Regions from separate parts of the Homo sapiens genome. Here region 1 is linked to region 2. Evidence: promoter capture Hi-C in human tissues and cell types (Jung and others, 2019). All regions are on one chromosome and are shown on one strand. The core of a region is centred on a gene start or on the middle of the fragment in contact, and the rest is flanking DNA. Distances in the headings are between cores, read along the strand shown. Region 1 holds the start of GPATCH8 (G-patch domain containing 8). Region 2 holds the start of MPP2 (MAGUK p55 scaffold protein 2).

Region 1 (6,287 bases), core at 1,193-3,692, 600 kb before region 2:
TAACAAGGCACTAAAAAGCTGAGTGAAAGGTCTGTGTGGATGGGGCTTCCTGAATGATGGACTTCTCTGTGGAGTATTTGGGCAGGAACATGATCTTTATGTAGGAAGACACCTCCCTACCCTCACTCCCATTGTTGGTACATGAAGCATTTTCTTCCCTAAGCTAGTCAATTTTCTAGAGAGGGTTCCTATGTTCTTTTGTTGGAGAAGTCAGACTCTCTGGCCAGAATGGAGGCTTTACCATATCCTCCCATTTTCAGCATGGTTGCTCCTTCTCACCTATAAAGTCCAGTCTCTCTGGTTCAGCCTTTCCAGAGGGAAAACCTCTAGTTTGCTACCTGGGTGGGAAAAGAGACATCGAATCATCAGTGGCACCAGGGGCTTCTACTTCCTGAGCCTTTCTGGTGCACTTTAGCATTGATCAACTTCTTTCCTGTCTTCTCCTACTCTATGACTTCTTTTTCTCCACTCTACTAAAGTCATTTCCATTTATCTGTGCTCTCTGGCCTCCAAAATGTTGACATCTGTTGTCTGCCATTGTCTCTTCTCCAGGTCTCTTTGTCCATGTGAATTTATGCACTTCTTATTCCTCTGCTGTCATTTCAGTGGGCTTTTGAGAGGAAGAAGAGGTCAGTGTGATGTGTATCCTCGTGATTCAATCTTTCACGCTACCCTTAAGTCTCTTTACAATGTTTGAGCCAGGCTCGGTGGCTCACGCCTGTAATCTCAGCACTTTGGGAGGCTGAGGCGGGCGGATCACAAGGTCAGGAGTTCCAGACCAGCCTTGCCAACATGGTGAACCCCGCCTCCACTAAAAATACAAAAAAAAAAAAAAAAAAAAAAGTCCGGGCGAGGTGGCTCACGCCTGTAATTCCAGCATTTTGGGAGGCCGAGGCAGGCGGATCACGAGGTCAGGAGATCGAGACCAGCCTGGCTAACACGGTGAAACCCCGTCTCTACTAAAAATACAAAAAATTAGCCGGGCTTGGTGGCGGGCGCCTGTAGTCCCAGCTACTCGGGAGGCTGAGGCAGGAGAATGGCGTGAACCCGGAAGGCGGAGCTTGCAGTGAGCCGAGATCGCGCCACTGCACTCCAGCCTGGGCGACAGAGTGAGACTCCTTTTCAAAAAAAAAAAAAAACAAATGAGCTGGGCTTAGTGGTGGGCGCCTGTAATCCCAGCTACTAGGGTGGCTGAGGCAGGAGAATCTCTTGAACCTGGGAGGCGGAGGTTGCAGTGAGCCGAGATTGCGCCACTGTACTCCGGCGACAGTGCGAGACTCCGTCTCAAAAAAAAAAAAAAAAAAAGAATACAATGTTTGAATTCTGTGTGCCCTGCCTCCCCTTAGATGGAAGCGTAGGCTGAAGCATGGGTGGGGCAAAGGGTAACAGCTAGAAAATACACACCCTTCCTCAAAAAATTACATTCCATTTGACTCTTTCAGGGCAGGGTAAGACCCATTTTTCCATTGTGTGATTTCTGTCAACTACTCTTTTCAAAAGGAGAGAAGTCCTGCCACCCTTCTATGTGTTTTATGTATTTTGGCTAAGAGTCCTGGAGCACTGGGTGAGGTCCTCAGAAGGGATGGAAAAATCCGATTCTTGACTCTCATAGTCAGCGCTAGGCAGGAGCATCAGAGATTACTGAATCCAATTTCCCTATTGTATAAAAAGGAAACTGAAGCCCAGAGAGCTTTAGTCGATCTGGATCAACTTCGGTCCCTTGTGAAATACTTCTCTCAAAGGATGGCTCGAAGTCAAGCTCCTTGCAGTCTTTGGGCCTTTGGGTCTAACGTTCCCTATGCCCCAATGCTGTAGGCTCCTCGCTGTGCCTCGGTCAAAGGTCCTTTCAGAGACTGTCCCTCTCAGCACTGTGGCCAGTTTTACTTTTTTGTGGCACTTGTTGATATTTAAAAATATTTATTTTACGAGTTATGTGAGTTCTTCCACTGGAATGAAATCCCCATAAGAGGAGATCATTCCTGTCTCGTTCACCGTTGAATCCTCAGGGTGAGCTGAGATTCGAAGCTAAGCAGTCTGGCTCTAAGGTCGCGCTTTCGGCCCAACATTATGCTGCTATTTAGTGAAGACGATGGACTTCTGCGCACACGGGGAAGCAACAGTGAGAAAAGACACCCGGAAGTGAGCAACAGCAAAACATCCAGATTTGTCCGCACGGTGCCCCCTCTGACCTTTCCCTCCGGAAGCTCTCGCGGCTCTCGGGCGGGAGTGCGCACGCGCGGCCACCGGGGTCGCTCCGGGTCGCGCGCGGAGCAGGGGCTAGAGGGAAGGGTCAGCCTCCAGGGCTGGCAGGCGCCTGCGCCGCGGGGCTCCCGTCAGGACGCGCATTCTCGCTCCCTCCCTCGGCTGCGCGCGCCCGGTGGGCGTGGGAGGAGGCGGGGAACCGGGGAGGGGTGGGTGTCGCAGGAGGGAAGGAGCGAACCGGAGAGCGTCGTCCTGAGAGGAGTGAAGGCGGCAAAATGGCGGACCGCTTCTCCCGCTTCAACGAAGACCGAGACTTTCAGGTAAACACGGGCGTCGCCGAGGATGCGGGGAAGGCGCTGGTCTAGCCCAGAACCTCCTTCATCTCCGGCTCCCAGCCCTCTTTCCTTCCAGTTTTGCTCCGACTTGCGAACCAGCTCGCTCTTCTCCCGTCTCTGCTTTCTCAAGAGGCCTCCCGGCTTGAGGGAGGCCGCATCTCCTCGCACCCGCATTCTCTTACCCCTGAAACTCAGGCCGCGGGGCTTGCGGCTTCCGCCTGTTTGGCATCGGATTTCGGAACCGGGCCTGAGCGCCGTGTGAGGGGCTGTGCCCTCCAGGTCTGCCCGATCTGTGCCGGCGAAGGGCTGGCTCCCAGGGGACAAGAGGGGTGGTTGGGTTGGGCTGAGAGGGCTTGGGGGAGAGTATTGCTGAGGCCAAGGCTTCCGAACCCCGGGATTTTGCTCTCACGGATCCTTTTGGGGTCCTTCTCTTTTCTTTCTTCACTGTGATAAATCAATTCCTTTCATTGTCTGCTTTTCCTCTTCCTTACCTGGGAAAAGGTTGCCTTCGCTATCAGACGCCTTATTGGTTAGTCATACATTGAGATTTCGCGGGGCATAAGTGTTGCTGTTATTAGGCTGTTAATTGGGCTTGGAAAGCAGTAAGTTACTGGACTATGATCCGATGTGAGCCTAACCTCAAATCCTATCTCGAAAGATTTGTGAGAAGCGTGATGATAATAGGCCGTCCACGCATGGGGTCACTAGTGCCAAAAGCTTGATTTTTCTTTCTTCAATTGCAAATGTTAGTATGGAAAAATGCCCTTACGATGGCAAGCTCTATTGAGTAAAAAATAAAGGCCAAATTAGAATAACTTGTTTTTTCGCTGTTGAAAATACCTTTCTGTTGAAATTGTTACCGCGGAAATCTCGAAGACTAAAAGGGATTTAGTAGAGATTGGCTATTTCTAGGTAAAATACATCCGTAGAGTCTCAAAAAAAAAAAAAAAACACTGCATTACTACCGCATATCCTGGCAACTGCAATTTGGGTCGGGATGAATCTCAGAACTCAAGTTTTTATCCCGCTGCAGATCCTACTCAAAGCAGTACGAAAGCACTCTAGATGTGTTTCAGAAGGCAGTTTAAAGAGTTTGAATTCCCTGAGATGATAGGATTGGTAAATAAATAGGTAAAGCAGTTTAACAATTTTAACTCAGCACTGTTAACAGTCTAGTACATAGAACGCTTATGAGAAGTTTTGCAGCAGTAAGGGATCTGGGGGCTGTTAAAAAGCCTTGTGATCATGCGCCTGCTGTATAGCTGCAGCACAATACAGGAGAGTCTCAGGATGTTCTAAGGATATAATGCAGATTCACCAAAGTTTGAAGCAGTTCATGTTAGCCTTTTGATCCCTGAGAAATATATATATATACACACATATATATATATTAGCAAGCACTATAAAATATGAGTTGGCTGCAAGGTGTATGAGCTTTATTGATTTTTAAATTACCGGTAGAGACATACTGATAACTAAAGCCCGCAAATGCTTTTCAGAGGAGAGAATAATCTCAAGGTGACCTAATAAAATCGAAAATAGATAATATGGACAGTTAAGTTTTGAGGGAAGATGACTGTCAACCACAGAATTCCAGCAGGCTTAGCAAACAGGATTTTCAGGGCCTTTAATGAAGATTTTGAAAATTGTGGATAGCAGAGTGTGAATGCTGTTTCCTGAAAAACATTCAGGGGGTTAGCCTGTACTTTTTCAATACTCAGTTTCCAAGTAAGATGACCCTGTCTTCTGATGCTTTAGTTGGGTATTGCAAAACCCGATTTTGGTTTCATGGTAGTCCTTTGAAGATGATACGTATACTTCATTTTCTGCTTATATGTTGAAAGAACCAACCCCTGTTAAATTGGGTCAGCCAGGAAAAATTTTTTTTTTTTTTGAAATGGAGTCTCGCTGTGTCGCCCAGGCTGGAGTGCAGTGGCACGATCTCGGCTCACTGCAACCTCTGCCTCCCGGGTTCAAGCAATTCTTCTGCCTCAGCCTCCCAAGCAGCTGGGATTACAGGCACCCGCCACCATACCCGGCTAATTTTTGTATTTTTAGTAGAGATGGGGTTTCACCGTATTGGCCAGGCTGGTCTCGAACTCCTGACTCGTGATCCGCCTGCCTCGGCCTCCCAAAGTGCTAGGATTACAGGTGTGAGCCATCGCGCCTGGCCGAAAATGTTGGTTTTTAAAATTCAGATGTCCTAGCATTTTGGGTAAATAGGGTATTGGGAATGGAAACCTTTTTAGACAGTTGTAAGATGTTAAAACTTTTATAAATTATGTTAACATTTCTAAAGTACATTCATTGAAAAATAAAGTGGTATTTTTCTAGATGTTTTAATAAAGGGAAAATACAGATTGACTTTCATTTAATGATGTATTTTGATTCAAAATTATTGGTGAGAGAATGTAATGTAATAGGATTCTCCTGTGAATAATGTATCTGAAACATTTTCAGCTTCAGGTTATTCAAAATTAAACGTGGCCTCCTTTTAAGGTTTTGGGTGAAGCCACTGACTATACTTGAAAACAAGTCATAGTAGGTTTCCAAACACAGTGGATAGATCTTGTTGCTTTCAACAGATCTTGTAGCACTGGAAATTGTTCATCTTCTCTGGTAAGTTCGAGATGACTTATTTTCTTTGCCTTTAATTTAGCAGGATGATTTAAAGTTGTAGAACTTCACTCTTTACCGGTTTATCAAGTGCAAATTTTGGAGAGTTTGATGTCTCTTGAAATTATTATGGAGTGAGGGAGTTGGGCTATTAAAATTTGTGAATACCTAAAGTTGCGAAGGTATTTTGTATATATAGTGAAAAGTTATAGTTAACAGTGGTATGCCACTTGAAGCACTCATGTATATAGAGATTAATAATTATCAGGGACCTAACTTTTTTTAATTGGTAACTTTATTATAATAACAAACAGGTCCTATTCCACAGGCTTTATGTGTCTTATCTCATAGTCTTCACTATAACCCTACGAGGTAGGTACTGTTATTACTGCCGTTTTCAGCTGAGGCACAGAGAATTAAGTAACTTAGCCAATTACATACATCTGTTAAATGGCAGAGCCTAAATTCATACTGGCTTTTGGATTCTTGTACTTGTCCTCATGACCATTCTGTCTGCTGCTGACAATTATACATTTTATGTAGCTGTAATTGGGTCATCAAATGTGGAGGATAGACTTATAGGTGACAAAGAATAAGGGAGCTTTTAGAAAGGTGATACAGTTCCAGTTTTTATTTTGTTTGGTTTTGTCCAGATCTGTCTCTTTCTGGTCTCCCAACGGCTTCTAGGGAGGCTTTCAACAATGATAAATTACATTGTGTCATAGAGGATATATTGTTACCTGTTTTAGTTTAGACATTCTTTTGTCTAGCCTTTTAAGTGTTTTTTTTTTTTTTAATCTTTGGAAATCTTTGTAATCTAAGCTGATGTATTTATTTTTACAAATGTTTTAAGAGTTTTAACTACTCCTTTAAGAATCTGGCCTCAATTTCTGAATGAGATATTACTTCTGCCAGCATTTACCAGATTAAGATATATTTGTTCCCAAATTGAAGTGTTACACAAACTAATGGAAAATGTATAACTTAAGATAATCAACACTTTGGATTACAGGTTCATTAAAGAAAGTTTTGTTTGTACAGTGATGTACAGCTAGCTATACGGTGCCATTAAGAAACAGTGCTTAGCATTTTATGGTTGCGCAGCTATTATTGGTGATGCAGCTGAATGCTGGT
Region 2 (5,787 bases), core at 535-3,034:
CTGAGGTGGGCAGATCACCTGAGGTCAGGAGTTCGAGACCAGCCTGACCAACATGGAGAAACCCTGTCTCTACTAAAAATACAAAATTAGCCAGGCATGGTGGCGCATACCTGTAATCCCAGCTACTCGGGAAGCTGAGGCAGGAGAATTGCTTGAACCCGGGAGGCAGAGGTTGCGACGAGCCGAGATCATGCCATTGCACCCCAGCCTGGGCAACAAGAGCGAAACTCCGTCTCAAAAAATAAAAATAAAAAAGAAGAAGAAGAAGAAGGATTTTCTAGCTTGCAGATAGAGGAAAGAGCTGCAAGCAATGCGCTCCAAGAACCCTCTTTGTTTAGAGACCAAAGCCTGCAATTCCTGTCAAAGCTATCTGGGTTCGATGGCTTTCTTCTCTCAGTAAAAGCCTGGGTCACCTAAACAATGTGGTTTTCAGCAGTTCGGCCGCCTCTGTGGCTTTTTCCTATATCCAAACTTATACCCTTGGAACTCAGGGGAGAGCTGAGTCTTGGAACCCAGGGACCAGTCCCCTGCTTTCGGGATAGATTCCCATTTCTGAGATTTCCAAGCAAGTTTCCAGAATGTAATCCATTTCTTTTCTTTTTGTTTCTTTTGAGACAGGGTCTCACTCTGTTGCCCAGGCTGGAGTGCGGTGTTGCAATCTCGGCTCACTGCAGCCTCAGCTTCCCAAGTAGCTGGGACTACAGGCGCGCGCTACCACGCCCAGCTAATTTTGTTTATTTTATTTTTTGTAGCGATGGGGTTTCACTATGTTGCTTGGGCTAGTCTCGAACTCCTAGGCTCAACCGATGCTCCCGCCTCCGACTCCCAAAGTGTTGGGATTATGGGAGTGAGCCACCGCGCCCGGCCAAAGATGCAGTCCATTTATGATCTTAGGAATCCAGTTAGCAAGGAAAAGGGATGACTCTCACATTTTGTTCAGGGCAACTGGACGGGGTGGCTGAACGCCGAGGTCGGAGAAGTAGCGTAGCTGGCCCCAAATGCTAGTCGCACTGCACAGAGCCTCCCGTATTTGGAGGCCCAGCATCTTTTACTAGCAGATGTGGGGTGGAGCCGGAGGCTGGGCGAAGGCGGGCCAGTGGGTTTAACCCTTTATTTACTTTTTGGGCTGGGACTCTGAGGAAGGCTAGCCAGTTACTTCTTTATTCCATAGGCAGGAAAATGGACCAGGCCTCCCTCACCTAGACCTAAAAGAGGCTCTCGAATCCTTTCAGGAAGACATTTCCTCTTTTTTGCAAAATTTCTGGAAAGTCTGGAATCCGGATATCCACCCTCTGAGTCCTTAAAAAGCTGCCCCTGATCCCGAGGCCTTCTGGGGCTGGTATCCTGCTTCCTGGGAGTCTCTCTGAAGTCCTCCTATTCTTTTTCTCAATATGGAAGCAGGATAACGAGGAAAAGTGAGGCACGCCTGGAACTAGAACGCCGGTCTAAGCCAAGATGGGTGGGCGGAGTAATCAAGCCGGTCTCATTAGGCACTTTTACCATCGCCCCTTTAAGGGATCCTTGGGAGCCGAGGGGCACCAGCGGGTACTGGTACCAGTCCTGCCTCCCTAACCCTTCCCAGTGGGACTCCAGCAGGGCGTCGTGGTCTGTGCGGTGTCTCCCAAACCACTACCTGGCTGCCCCCGTACCAGCTGCTGGGAAAGACTACTTCCTCCGAGTTGTGCCGGCCTCCGCGTTCTCCTCACCTCCCCTCTCCTCCGGACCTCCGCCCCCTCGCGGAGAGGCCTTGCCGCTTTAAGAGCCGGGCTAGCGATTGACAAGCAATAAACGCTGAGCGCCCGGCTGCGCTGGAGCCGCCCGGAGCTAGGGGCTTCCCGGGGCGCAGGTAGGCGTCCCCCGGCCCCCGGGCCAGCTCCTATCCCAAGACCTCCGCCTTCTTTTCGTCCTGACACGGCACTTAGGACCCTATTCACTGGGTTTAAACTCCACAGGCCCCTTTCACCCAGGCCCGTTCCCTCCCTGTCCACCCGCCCCCGCCCCTGGGCCCTCTTTCTGGGGTGCTGGTTGGGAGAACCAAGCCCCGCTGCCCATTGACACTGGTCCCCGCCCCTGCGGTAGGGGCTCCAAAGTGGCTTCAGGCACCAAGGTGGTGAGCTGTGAGGGGCCCCGGTATCTGCGCGGCCTCCCCGGGGGCTGTGCGGGTTGGGGGTACTTAGAAGCCCGGCATTACGTAAGAACCGTGCTGTTAGCGCTTCCGGGGGTTGGGGAGCGAGACAGAGGTTGCGCTGGGTCCCGGTGGCCCCCTGGTCCCCCTAGGCAGCTAACACCACAATCTTCCCTGGGAGGGGGTCCGCAGAAGGGCGCGCGCTGCTTCTCCCGCTTCCCAAGCTGTAGCGGGGCGGGTCGGGAGCCAGGGTTAGGGTCTGGAGACTTGGGAGGGGACCGGTGCCAGAAGCGAAGAGCTAGGGTTAGAAAGTTAGGTCAATTAAGGGGGGGGCGGTGCGGATAAAGACGGGGTGGGGGTTGGCCGGGGCAGTCATTTAGTGACCTCATCCCTGGTCTCCGGCGGGCGCGCACGTAGAGAGCCTTCTTTGATGGCTCACAACACGCCCCCCTCCCCCAGGTCCTAGCGCCCAGGGTGTTAGGGCTGGGTCCGTTGGGGCAGGGGTGATCTGATGGTCCAAGCATGCACGTCCGCCTGGCCTTTCGACCCCATCCTCTGGCCCTCAGTTCTGTCCAGACCTCCCCGCGACCTCTCGCTCTCCAAAGCGCCTTTGTCAGACCTTTCTTCTCCGCACCTCTTTGTATGTGTATGGATGGAGGGATGGGTGGGAGGTTGGAAGAAACCTCTCCCTTTCACTGCTGGTCCGCTCGCCTGCGGACACTATGGGTGATGTGGATATCTCGGAGGCAGAGCTGAGAGGGCATCTGGGCCCAGGCTTTTGGAAGCCGAGGTGCAGGTTCCCAGATGTCTGGGTGCAGGACCTTGGCACGGAGCCAGGCTAGCTTGCCTGGCACTGCCGTTCTCCTGTGGACACAGCCAGGCCCCGCCCTCTCAGAGGCTTGGACGGGCGTGGGGGAGCAAAGCCAGCCGATGCTCTGGGAACCGATTCCCCGGGAGAAAACCCAGGCAGGCTGGGCAAGACTTCCGAGCGCAGGGATTTCATACAGGATCCTCCCTGCCTTTTCCCGCCCTCCACGCTCTAGGGAAGGAGGACTTCTGGAGTCCCTTCTCTGACCCTGTGAGGGAGAGCAGCGCCAGCCAGGAGAAGGCTCCAGGTCATCAAGGCCTGGGAGGGGGAGGGAAGGGATCCCTCCTCCCTGCTCTCTAGGAGTAGAGATTGGCACCAGGGGCACGGGCCAGCACAGTGGATCCTGGGCATTTCTTCCAGCCTGGGTGTAGCCTGAATAGGGGTGCCCTTCCTCTCCCTGAAAGCACCTTTATTCCATGTCCTCAGCGGCAGAGCTGGGAGGAAAGGGAACCATCCCCCTCACTTTTGTAATTTCTGTCACCTGAGCTCAGGTGACCAGCTCAGGCCTGAGAAGGGAATGGGAGCAGAGAGGGTTTTATTGAAATCAGGTACTAGTCCTCTGGGAAGAATCCTCTTTTGGGGGGAGGTGGAGTTGCCGTGGTTCCCCCACCCCCAGGACTCAGCAGGCATTCAGTCCTAAAGTGGGCACTGCCAGATGCTTCCCCCCACTCCCCACCCCTGCTGTGAGCCACTGCCTCCTGTTGTCATGGCAACTGGGAATTAGGGTTTTATCCAGCAGCACATGCCCAGGAAGGCAAAGGGAAGAAGGGTGGGGGGTAACCCCCTGCCCTCTCCTGGGAGAACGAGGGAGCCACTCCTAGCCTGGGGAGGCCCTGGAATGGAAACTGGGGCTGTAGACTCCATGCTTGGTTCTGCCCAGAGCACTTGGTCTCCTTGTGCCAGCTCTGAGCTAAGAAAGGGAGAGAGGAGAGAGAGCCAGCCAGAGGGGCCGTGGAGAGGTAGATATCACTCTGTCAGCCCCCCAGATAAATGTGGAACATCGGCGCTTTGGTAGGCCTAGGTTCCAGAAGCAAATAAAATCAATGTGGTTCTGACTCTCAGGGAACCTGCAGTCTAGGAGTACTCATGTTTTCTACTTTGGCTCAAATTCTGGACTCTTTTATTATTTTTTAAATGACTTTTTTTTTTTAAGACAGGTTCTTGCTCTGTTGCCCAGGCTGGAGTGCAGTGGCGCAATCATGGCTTACCGTAGCCTCGACCTCCTGGGCTCAAGAGATCCCCCTGCCTCAGCCCCACAAGTAGCTGGGATCATAGGCATGCACCACCACACCTGGATAATTTTTAATTTTTTTGTAGAGATGGGGGTCTCGCCATGTTGCCCAGGTGGGTCTCAAACTCCTGGGCTCAGGTGATTCTCCTGCCTCAGCCTCCTAAAGTGCTGGGATTATAGGCGTGAGCCACCTTGCTCAGCCAAATTATAGTCTTACCCTCTAAAAATTCTACTTGTTTCCTCTTCAAAAAACAAACAAACAAAAAATACAACAGGAAGAAACACTTTATTTATATACTTATTTTTGAGTCATAAAACCTGGATTTTCATTTTAGCTCTCCTTATTAGCTTTGTGAACTTGGGCAAATCAGTTAACCTCCCTTATCCTCCCTGGTCTCCTCCTCCTCAGAGAAATAGGCGAGTAATACCTGCTCTTCCTGCTTCCCAGGACCGTTGGAATCATTGTTGTTCTCCAACCCCCACTTTCTGGGCAGCACCTTCTCCCCTACCTTTCTGGCTCGTCCTGAAGGGGAGGCTCTTCCTATTCCCTTCCCCATTGCTTTGCCCTTGTATCTGCTCATCCTCCTCTCTCCCCTCTCCAGGAGAGACGTTTCAGAGCCCTTGCCTCCTTCACCATGCCGGTTGCCGCCACCAACTCTGAAACTGGTAAGAAGGGGGTGAGGATGTTAGCTTATTTCAGTGGTTCAGAGGGTGCCAGGCGAGGACTTAGGGGTGGGCACTTGCACAGCTCCAGATAAGAACCAACTGGCTCCACTGCTGTCCACCCTACCACTCAGCCATTCCTTCTGGCAGCTGCTGTGGCCATCTCCTCTGTGTGGGTTCCTGTGCTGGAACGGAGAAGAGAAAGAATAAGACCCATACCTGCTCCAGTGTAGGGCTGGAGCACAACTCACCTCCGTGGAGGGCAGGGGATGCATGCTCCAGAGGTGACCCGTACTATTGCTGGAGGGCAGTGGCATAGGACCAGGCCTTCAGGAGGTGGCCCCGGAGCTGGGCCTTGGAGAATGGCTTGGGGGTGGAGGGATTACAGCAGCACAGCCTGGGGCTGAGAAGTCCATAATCGCTGCCCACTAGGCCAGCATGTGCCAGAGGTGGACAGGGGGTACTGGGGACCAGGAAGCTGTGAGTGAAGGAACAAGAATACCAGGTTAGGATACCTGGACGTGGCTCTGTAGGAGGCATTAGGACAAGGGAGTGGGCCACTCAGACAAACTAGCAAAGCCTCAGTGGCAAACTGCTTAACCTCTTGGAGCTCGCATTTCTTCTTCTGTAAAGAGGCTGCTGTGAGACGCAAAGGCTGTAATGGGAGAGCACATTACTTTTAGGAATAGTCATAATTATTATGCTGCTGTTGCTGCCGCTGCCACCAAGTTGTTGTTGTTGTTTTTGAGACAAGTTCTGGCTCTTTAGCCTAGGCTGGAGTGCAGTGGCGCAAGCTTGGCTCACTGCAACCTCTGCCTACCAGCCTCAAGTCATTCTCCCACCTCAGCCTCCCAAGTAGCTGGGACTACAGGTGTGCACCACCATGCCCAGCTAATTTTT

What was found. Contacts are between HindIII fragments. The study calls those that stand out against the background at their distance.
Region 1: a contact is called between the fragment with the promoter of GPATCH8 here and the fragment with the promoter of MPP2 in region 2, in 1 of the 25 tissues and cell types used here (heart right ventricle).

Annotation. Positions count from the first base shown.
Region 1 is chr17:44,499,561-44,505,847 of GRCh38, reverse strand. It overlaps GPATCH8 (G-patch domain containing 8), which reads left to right and starts at 2,442. Exons shown (of 8, transcript NM_001002909.4): 1 at 2,442-2,522. The coding sequence starts at 2,478. RefSeq lists a silencer at 2,159-2,508 and an enhancer at 2,609-2,708. The HindIII fragment of the contact is 22,919 bases long and covers 1-6,287 here.
Region 2 is chr17:43,903,533-43,909,319 of GRCh38, reverse strand. MPP2 (MAGUK p55 scaffold protein 2) reads left to right here and starts at 1,784. Exons shown (of 13, transcript NM_005374.5): 1 at 1,784-1,846; 2 at 4,827-4,890. The coding sequence starts at 4,860. RefSeq lists an enhancer at 1,625-1,774. The HindIII fragment of the contact is 11,562 bases long and covers 1-5,787 here.